Regions from separate parts of the Homo sapiens genome. Here all the other regions are linked to region 1. Evidence: promoter capture Hi-C in human tissues and cell types (Jung and others, 2019). All regions are on one chromosome and are shown on one strand. The core of a region is centred on a gene start or on the middle of the fragment in contact, and the rest is flanking DNA. Distances in the headings are between cores, read along the strand shown.

The links. Contacts are between HindIII fragments. The study calls those that stand out against the background at their distance.
Region 2: a contact is called between the fragment with the promoter of MAPT here and the fragment with the promoter of SPATA32 in region 1, in 1 of the 25 tissues and cell types used here (dorsolateral prefrontal cortex).
Region 3: a fragment that was not itself captured here is called in contact with the fragment with the promoter of SPATA32 in region 1 in 1 of the 25 tissues and cell types used here (dorsolateral prefrontal cortex).

Annotation. Positions count from the first base shown.
Region 1 is chr17:45,260,459-45,263,552 of GRCh38, forward strand. SPATA32 (spermatogenesis associated 32) reads right to left here and starts at 1,636. Exons shown (of 5, transcript NM_152343.3): 1 at 1,546-1,636. The coding sequence starts at 1,558. MAP3K14 (mitogen-activated protein kinase kinase kinase 14) reads right to left here. Exons shown (of 16, transcript NM_003954.5): 16 at 2,661-3,094. All of the region lies in intron 2 of MAP3K14-AS1 (MAP3K14 antisense RNA 1), which reads left to right. RefSeq lists silencers at 1,280-1,399, 1,470-1,519 and enhancers at 1,468-2,073, 1,550-1,639, 2,074-2,677. The HindIII fragment of the contact is 11,872 bases long and covers 1-3,094 here.
Region 2 is chr17:45,892,974-45,896,067 of GRCh38, forward strand. MAPT (microtubule associated protein tau) reads left to right here and starts at 1,581. Exons shown (of 13, transcript NM_001377265.1): 1 at 1,581-1,713. It overlaps MAPT-AS1 (MAPT antisense RNA 1), which reads right to left and starts at 2,540. Exons shown (of 2, transcript NR_024559.1): 1 at 2,507-2,540. MAPT-IT1 (MAPT intronic transcript 1) reads left to right here and starts at 2,810. Exons shown (of 1, transcript NR_024560.1): 1 at 2,810-3,094. RefSeq lists enhancers at 1,524-2,409, 2,410-3,094. The HindIII fragment of the contact is 9,010 bases long and covers 1-3,094 here.
Region 3 is chr17:45,855,720-45,858,813 of GRCh38, forward strand. All of the region lies in intron 1 of MAPT-AS1 (MAPT antisense RNA 1), which reads right to left. Among named protein-coding and RNA genes, the nearest start is that of SPPL2C, 12 kb to the left of the region's middle. The HindIII fragment of the contact is 3,849 bases long and covers 1-3,094 here.

The DNA.
Region 1 (3,094 bases), core at 386-2,885:
CTCATCTCCCAGTACCAGAGCCAGCACACACCCATGACTTCCTACCCTTTGGCACTTGGTGCTGAGTGCTTTGCACATTCAGTCTTCATACCTACCCTATGCCCAGTTGGCCACGGCTCTCCTCTCACAGATGAGGAAACGTGTATGAGGTCATGCAGCTATTAAGAGCAGCACACGACCCAAAGGCAGGTCTGGCTGGCTCCAAACTCTGGGATGCTACTCACTGCACTGTCTTAAATCTCTTTAGTCTTCCAGTGGGACCACTGCAACTATGTCCCCCTCCAACCTGGATTTTCAATGACCTCAGAGTGAGCCTGCTACATCTCACTTGTCTCCGGTTACCCCCAGACTCCATGTGGCCTCTTGGTCTGATCTCTACCTTCATTTTTCATCTCTTGGCATCCAGCTTCCTGTCCCTCACCCTAAGCCGAAGCTACCCCCAGAGTACCGCAGGCCTTTCTGCACCCAGTGCCTTTGCAAATGCTATTTCTTATACCTGGAAAGCCTTCTTCTGGCAAAGTCCTACTCATGCCTGAAAGCCCAATTCAAATAATCAGTGTAATCCTCTCCATGACAGACCTGGCTGTCTAATCTACGTTTTACCTTACAGGCGTGAGCCACTGCACCCGACCTCTGGTTTTTTTTTTTTTTTTTTTGACAGGGTCTTGCTCTGTGGCCCAGGCTGGAGTGGCAGCATCATAGCTCACTGCAACTCCTGGGCTCCAGTGAGCCTCCCAGCTCAGCCTCCCAAGTAGCTGGGACTACAGGCTCATGCCGCCACACCTGTCTAATTTTAAACATTTCCTGTAGAGGACAAAGTCTCGCTATGTTGCCTAGGCTGATCTTGAACTCCTGGCCTCATGTGATCCTCCCACCTCTGCCTCCCGAAGTGTTGGGATTGCAGGCGTTGAGCCATCATGCCCACCTAATTTTTGACCGTTTTTAATGCTGGCCCATGCCCTTCTGGGAGAGAGGATCCCCAAAAGAAAGCCACCATTTCAGTGGGGGATCTGACGCCCCTATGGGAAGGGGAGACACAGGGCACTGGGGGCAAACATCTTTGCTCATTGGTTCAGAGAAGAGTACAAGGCATCAACGAAGCGCTCCGTAAAAATGTGCTGAAGACTGCCGCTCCTCCCTGCAAAGCCTCAAGCATCAAGGAGGGACAACTGGATGTGATTTTTTGGATCTGCAGTTCAGGATAATTCATGAGTCGTTTCCTGTGCACAAGGCCATTGCTCCTTCTGTGGTCTCAGAACCCCTTCAAGAACCACTGACTCTGCAGTCCCTACTCCAAGGCGCGCATGCGTGTCCGTGAGAGCACATGGGTGTGCACCGCGCAGGGGCTGAGGCTGGGAGCCGTAGTCAGGGGCACCGGGTGGGCTTTGGCGGCGGGTCGACCTGCCTTTCAGGTGCCGGGGGTTTGGGAGCAGGGGAACGGGCCCTGGGCGGATTCCTGACCGCCCCCTTCGCGCCCCTCCCCCTCTCACTTTCGCTTTCCCCGCCTGCCCCAACCCTCGCCCCCGGGCGCTCGGCCGCTCCCACCTGTCACCCCCATGCAGACCGAGGCTCTGTCCTGGAGGCGGGGAGCGGGCTGGTGGATGCTGCCTCTCCGCCTCCAGTGTGCTCTTTGGCTGAGGGACTGGTGGGCGCTGGAAATATTAGAGGCGCCGGTGCCTGTGATGTCGCCGCCTCTGTGACGTCCCCGCCGCGACCCCACAGGCAGGGAGCCGCATTTAGGTTTCGGGCGGGCGGACGGGGGACGGCCCGAGTGAGGCGTCCTCCGAAGGCTGCGGGCCCGAAGCCAGAACTCCTTCCTCTCCGAAGACCTCGGGGGTGGGGCTCGCGCTTCCGCAGCGGGCCTAGAGCGAGAGGCAGGCGGCAGGTAAGCCTGGCTGTGCTGGACAGGACTTGCACCCGCTCTGCACGCCAGCGGCTCAGGGCTGCCGCCCTTTTCGTGGTCCCAGGGCCCTTCCAAGAACCGGCTAAACCAACCCAAGCCGCGCGCACACACACTTGTGCACACAGGGAGTGTGGAGCCAGATTCGATAAGGCACCCCGTGTGCCCCAGCTCCATGACCAAGGAACTCAGCACCCCGTGTGCCCCAGCTCCATGACCAAGGAACTCAGCACCCCGTGTGCCCCAGCTCCATGACCAAGGAACTCAGCCCACAAAGGCATCCCTGGCCCCATGCAGGGCTCAGGAGGCAGCGGAAAGGGTTAAGAGTCCAGGCCTCAAGGACAGGAGGGGAGGGTGGAGGGCCTGTGGTGTGCATCCGGCATCCCTGGATGGTCAGGGCCCAGAACCCATCCCTATTTCCCTTCTGGTGGTAGGGGGCTGCCTAACTTGGGCAGTGGCACAAAGCATGCAGGCTTTGTTGTCCTCCTCCTCCACCCCTCAGCCTGGCATATTTTGGCGAGGGACTTCCCTGATGCCACCGGGCAAGGTATCTTGCCTAACTGGTCTGAATGACTAGCCCAGCGTTGGGACTAGAAGCAGCCACTGGGAGGAGTGGTGGGAAAGCAGCCCCACTCAAGGGCTGAAACAGTCCTTGTCCAAAACAAGGGGGACTTGAAAAGATCTCAGCAAGAAGGCAAAGAGAGGCAGCTGTTAGGGTCGTGAGGTTCAGCAGGCCGGCAGGCAAGAGAGAGGACACCGATGGCCTGGAAACATTTGTCATCACCCCAAACTTTATTGCTTACAAAGAGTTCTCTACAACCCAGACTCTGCAGTACCAAGGCTGCAGTTCTTTATGTGCTGGGGGCCGGGGCTCTCTCCCCGGGAGCAGTCTGACTCAATGTGGACAGCTGGACAAAGGCTGTCTTGGCAAGATGTGGGAATGAGCTTCTCCCACGGAGTCTCGGCGTCCCCTGCCCCAGGAGGTTGAGGCTAGCAGACACCCCCTGACGATTCACAGCTGATTTAATGCTACGTGAGTCCTGAGTAGCTCCCCTGGGAGAAGAGGCTAAGCTGGGGCAATGGGGAAGGGGGTGCTATTCTTAGAGAAATCTGGAAGAGGTTTGAGGAGTCACATGCATGTGGACAGCTCAAGACTGTGTCCCTTCACCCCATCTCCTGGCTTGCTATGCTCCT
Region 2 (3,094 bases), core at 331-2,830, 630 kb after region 1:
GCTGAGGTGGGAGTTAGAAAGCAGCCTGGGCAACACTGCAAGACCTCCTCTCTAAAAAAAAAAAAAAAAAAAAGTTAGCCAGGTGTGGTGGTGCCCACCTGTAGTCCCAGCAACTCAGAAGGCTGAGGTGGGAAGATTGCTTGAGCCCCAGGAGTTCAAGCTTGCCGTGAGCTACGATTGTGCCACTGCACTCCAGCCTGAGCAAGACCTTGTCTCCAAAAAAAGGTCAATTCCACTGACTTTTCTAAGGTGTACACCATCAAGGGGCAGCTCCATCTCCAGGCCATTGGCTCATGAGACATTCTGTAGTCAGAAGGCTAGGGCAGATTGCTTTGAGCAAGCCCCCATGGTGGTTCTCACTCCTACTTCTTTGGGTATATGCCCCTCTGTTTAAAAATAAAGTTAATATGCATTTAAAAAAAAAAAGGAGAAAAAGGTCAGTTCCAGAAACTGTGTGAATAAAGCATTTTACTTGCTTTTTCTATTAATCTATAACATATGTTGATTTTTTAAAAAGAATATAAGAGCTATGCAAATTGGAGCTTCAAGACAACTTCCCATCTCCCTAGGAGGAGATGGCTGCCCTAAACCCCCCTACATAGAAATCATCCCACTGCTTGGGCTTAAACTTGATGTTGGGGAAATGAAAAATCCAAGCTAAGGCCGAAGCCTGGGGCCTGGGCGACCAGCAGAATGAGGACCACTGGTCAGTTTCAGGCTGAGGTGCGTCTTCCAGGGGACAATCTCTAGCTGGCCCTTAAACATTCAGACTTCAAGCTCTATTTACAGCATAAAGGTGTTTCAAAAGACGTGATACAAATAACTGCAAATGCTCTGCGATGTGTTAAGCACTGTTTGAAATTCGTCTAATTTAAGATTTTTTTTTCTGACGTAACGGTTAGATTCACGTTTCTTTTTTTTTAAGTACAGTTCTACTGTATTGTAACTGAGTTAGCTTGCTTTAAGCCGATTTGTTAAGGAAAGGATTCACCTTGGTCAGTAACAAAAAAGGTGGGAAAAAAGCAAGGAGAAAGGAAGCAGCCTGGGGGAAAGAGACCTTAGCCAGGGGGGCGGTTTCGGGACTACGAAGGGTCGGGGCGGACGGACTCGAGGGCCGGCCACGTGGAAGGCCGCTCAGGACTTCTGTAGGAGAGGACACCGCCCCAGGCTGACTGAAAGTAAAGGGCAGCGGACCCAGCGGCGGAGCCACTGGCCTTGCCCCGACCCCGCATGGCCCGAAGGAGGACACCCACCCCCGCAACGACACAAAGACTCCAACTACAGGAGGTGGAGAAAGCGCGTGCGCCACGGAACGCGCGTGCGCGCTGCGGTCAGCGCCGCGGCCTGAGGCGTAGCGGGAGGGGGACCGCGAAAGGGCAGCGCCGAGAGGAACGAGCCGGGAGACGCCGGACGGCCGAGCGGCAGGGCGCTCGCGCGCGCCCACTAGTGGCCGGAGGAGAAGGCTCCCGCGGAGGCCGCGCTGCCCGCCCCCTCCCCTGGGGAGGCTCGCGTTCCCGCTGCTCGCGCCTGCGCCGCCCGCCGGCCTCAGGAACGCGCCCTCTTCGCCGGCGCGCGCCCTCGCAGTCACCGCCACCCACCAGCTCCGGCACCAACAGCAGCGCCGCTGCCACCGCCCACCTTCTGCCGCCGCCACCACAGCCACCTTCTCCTCCTCCGCTGTCCTCTCCCGTCCTCGCCTCTGTCGACTATCAGGTAAGCGCCGCGGCTCCGAAATCTGCCTCGCCGTCCGCCTCTGTGCACCCCTGCGCCGCCGCCCCTCGCCCTCCCTCTCCGCAGACTGGGGCTTCGTGCGCCGGGCATCGGTCGGGGCCACCGCAGGGCCCCTCCCTGCCTCCCCTGCTCGGGGGCTGGGGCCAGGGCGGCCTGGAAAGGGACCTGAGCAAGGGATGCACGCACGCGTGAGTGCGCGCGTGTGTGTGTGCTGGAGGGTCTTCACCACCAGATTCGCGCAGACCCCAGGTGGAGGCTGTGCCGGCAGGGTGGGGCGCGGCGGCGGTGACTTGGGGGAGGGGGCTGCCCTTCACTCTCGACTGCAGCCTTTTGCCGCAATGGGCGTGTGTGTGTGTGTGTGTGTGTGTGTGTGTGTGTGTGTGTGTGGAGGGGTCCGATAACGACCCCCGAAACCGAATCTGAAATCCGCTGTCCCTGCCGCTGTTCGCCATCAGCTCTAAGAAAGACGTGGATCGGGTTCTAGAAAAGATGACTCCCTGCACGCCCCTCCCTGCACCTCCCGAGCAGTGATTCCGACAGGGCCTTCACTGCCCCTGATTTTAGGCGGGGGCCGGCCCCCTCCCCTTTTCCTCCTTCAGAAACCCGTAGGGGACATTTGGGGGCTGGGAGAAATCGAGGAGATGGGGAGGGGTCCACGCGCTGTCACTTTAGTTGCCCTTCCCCCTGCGCACGCCTGGCACAGAGACGCGAGCAGCGCCGTGCCTGAGAACAGTGCGCGGATCCCACTGTGCACGCTCGCAAAGGCAGGGTTCACCTGGCCTGGCGATGTGGACGGACTCGGCGGCCGCTGGTCCCCGTTCGCGGGCACGCACAGCCGCAGCCACGCACGGATGGGCGCGGGGCTGCAGGTGCATCTCGGGGCGGATTTCTTTCTCAGCGCTCGGAGCGCAGGGCGCCCGGCGTGTGCGCTCCCTGCCGGAGGCGCGGGGCTGGCGCGCAGGGCTCGCCCCTCACTGCGGCAGTGGGTGTGGACCCTGGTGGGCGAGGAAGGGGGAGGATAGGCTGTGCCTCCTCCCACTCCCGCCCCCAGCCCCCCTTTTTTTCCCCCTCGGAACGCGAGGTGCCATCTTTTTTCGGCGTGTCACGTCTTTACGGTGCCATGCCAAACCGGGTGGCCGGGCTTCATAGGACAGGGCGGGGCCTGGCATTAAAGGGAGGGGGACAATCAGCGCTGAAATCTTGGCGTTTTGCTGCTGCGGGCGTGAGCACTGGGGGCGTTCGCCCAGCACCTTCTTCGGGGGCTCTTTGCTTTGTCTGTAGAGGTTACGTGATCTGCGCTCCCAGCCCTGGTTTCTGGCTTTTATTCTGAGGGTGTTCAGTCAACCTCCCCCCTACGCCCATG
Region 3 (3,094 bases), core at 193-2,692, 600 kb after region 1:
ATTGGAAAGCACAGGAAAGTAGAAAAAAAAATCCACATTACTATAAGCTTTTGTTTTATTTCCATCCAGTCATTTGTTTTCCCCACGCATAAGGGTTTGGTTTTGTTTTTATTTTTTTAATTGTGGTAAAATACACATAACAAAATTTATCAAAGTGTACAGCTCAGCAATATTATTGAATACACTTACAATGTTGTGCAACTAGCACCACCATCCATTTCTAGAACTCTTCATCTTGTCAAACGAAATTCCATACCCACAAACAATAACTCTCATGCCTTCCTCCCCAGCCTCTGGCAACCACCATTCTACTTCCTGTCTCTATGATTTTGACTACCCTAAGTGCCTCATATAAGTGGAATCACACAGAATTTGTCTTTTTGTGACTGACTCATTTCATTTAGCATAATGGCCTTAAGGCTCATCCATGTGGCAGCATACTGCAGGATTCCTTTCCTTTTTAAGGATGAGTAACATTCACTGTGTGTATGCACCACATTTTGCCTAGCCATTCATTCCTCTGTTGGTGGAAACTTGGGTTACTATAAACATTGGTGTGCAAATATTAGATAGTGCAAAATTTATTGTGGTTTTTGCCATTACTTTCAATATCTCTGAGGCCCTGTTTTTAGTTCTTTGGGTTATATACCCAGAAGTGCAATTTCTGAATCACATGGTAATTCTATGTTCAATTTTTTGTTTATGTATGTATGTATGTATTTATTTATGTATGTATGTATGTATGTATGTATTTATTGGGAATGGGGTCTTGCTGCATTGCTCAGGGTGGTCTCGAACTCCTGGGCTCAAGCAATCCTCCCTCAACCTCCCAAGTAGCGGGGATTACAGGCATGAGCCCCTGGCTTTATGGTGTTTGTTTGTTTGTTTGTTTGAGACAGGGTCTTGCTCAGTAATCCAGGCTGGAGTGCAGTGGCACGATCACTGCTCACTGTAGCCTTGACTTCCTGGGCTCAAGCAATCCTCCCACTTCAGTCCCCCAAGTAGCTGGAACTACAGGTGCACACCACTATGCATGGCTAATTTTTTTTTTTTTTTTTTTTAGTGGAGATGCGGTCTCACTATGTTGCTCAGGCTGGTTGTGAGCTCCTGAGCTCAATCGATCCTCCTGCCTCAGCCTCTCAAAGTGCTGGGATTACAGGTGTAAGCCACGGTGCCCAGCCTCTGTTTAATTTTTTAAGAGATTGCCATACTGTTTCCATAGAGACTATAGCATTTTACATTCCCACCAATAGTGCACATGTGTTCCAATTTCTCTACATCTTCATCAATACCTATTTTCTGGTTTTGGGTTTTTGTTGTTGTTGTTTGTTTGTTTGTTTGTTTTGAGACAGAGTTTCGCTCTTGTCGCCCAGGTTAGAGTACAGTGGCACGATCTCGGCTCATGCAACTTCCACCTCCTGGGTCCAAGCCATTCTCCTGCCTCAGCCTCCCAAGTAGTTGTGGTTACAGGTGTGCACCACCACGCCTGGCTAATTTTTGTGTTTTTAGTAGAGACAAGGTTTCACCATGTTGGCCAGGCTGGTCTCAAACTCCTGACCTCAGGTGATCCATCTCCCTCAGCCTCCAAAACTGCTGGGATTATAGGCATAAGCCACCATGTCCAGCCAATTTTCTGGGGTTTTTTTGTATTGTTTTTTTGTTTTTTTTTTTTAATAGCAGTCTTCTTAATAGATATGAGGTAATATCTCATTATAGTTTTGATTGGCATTTTTCTAATGCTCATTTTTCCATGTGCTTATTGGCCATTTGTCTTTTTAAATGGAGAAATGTATTTTCAAAACCTTTGTCCTTTTTTGAATCAGGTTGTTTGTCTTTTAGTTGTTGAGTTTTAGAAGTTCTCTATATATTCTAAATATTAATCCTTTATCAGATATATAATTTGCAAATATTTTCCTCCATACTGTGGGTTGCCTTTTTACTCTGTTGATAGTGTCTTAGGATTAACAAAATTTTTTTAACTTTTATGAAGTCTAGTTTTTCTTTTTTATGAAGTCTGTTGTCTGTGCCTTTGGTGTCATATCTAAGAAATCATTGCCAAATTCGATGTTGGTAAGCTTTTGCCTGATGTTTTCTTGTAAGAGTTCCATGCATAGGTTTATTATTTGTTCATTTCAGTCCCAAGATGTCATCTGTCACCCAGGCCATCTGAATCCTTGTTAAAGAAAAGGGCACAACTGTTCTTTGTCATGTCCATCCAGCTGCAGGACTTCTGATACCTCCCTACCATTTGTCAAACCAACCCCAACTCCTCAGCCTGGTGTTTAAGGCCATCTGCATCCAGCCTTCCCTCCTGACTGGCCTTCCCTCCACTGGCCCCTATACATCCTGTTCACATGGCTCTTCTCACACGCTCACCCTTGCTCCGTGCCTCTGCTCACCTGGAATGAGCTTCTTCCACCTTCCTCTAATTCCTATAAACAAGAATCCACTGAGACAGTCCACATTCCAGGGCCCCTGTGCTGGGCCCTGTCCAAGGTCCTGGAGATGAACATAAACAAGATGTGAGAGTGGCGGGAGAGGGTCATGGATGCATTCTCTTTAAGACTCTTTCGGCTTTGAAGAATAAGAAACTGCTCAAAGTAGCTTAAGCCAAAAGAGAAGCATATTTGAAGGGACACAGGAATTTCTCAGAACAGAAGGGCAAACAGCCCAGTCAGGGCTCATGGGAACTGGGAATTAGAAAGCTTTCTGCCTCGCCGAGCTTCATAATCTCTGGGCCTCCACTTCCTCTTCTCCCCTCCCTGGGCTGGCTGCCTCTGCTCACCCATTTTGCCCTTGTCTCGTCATGCCACTGGCCCCCAACTCCACGTCATTGCCTCTCAGCCCAGGGGTCACCAACAACAGGCAACGGTGTCTATGCAGCCACATTTCAGACTCTCTCGAGAGAATCTACCTGGCTTCCACACTCTCTAGGGACCCTATTTGTTTGGCATCCTGTCACTGACTGTGGGTGAGCCCATGGGTCCCTGACTCAGGTGCCCACCCCAGGTCCAATCAGCTGTGGCTGGAGAGGGAGGGTGAGGAAGGCAGGGGCCACTGGATCACAAGGTTGTTCTTCCTGGAGATTGCTTCT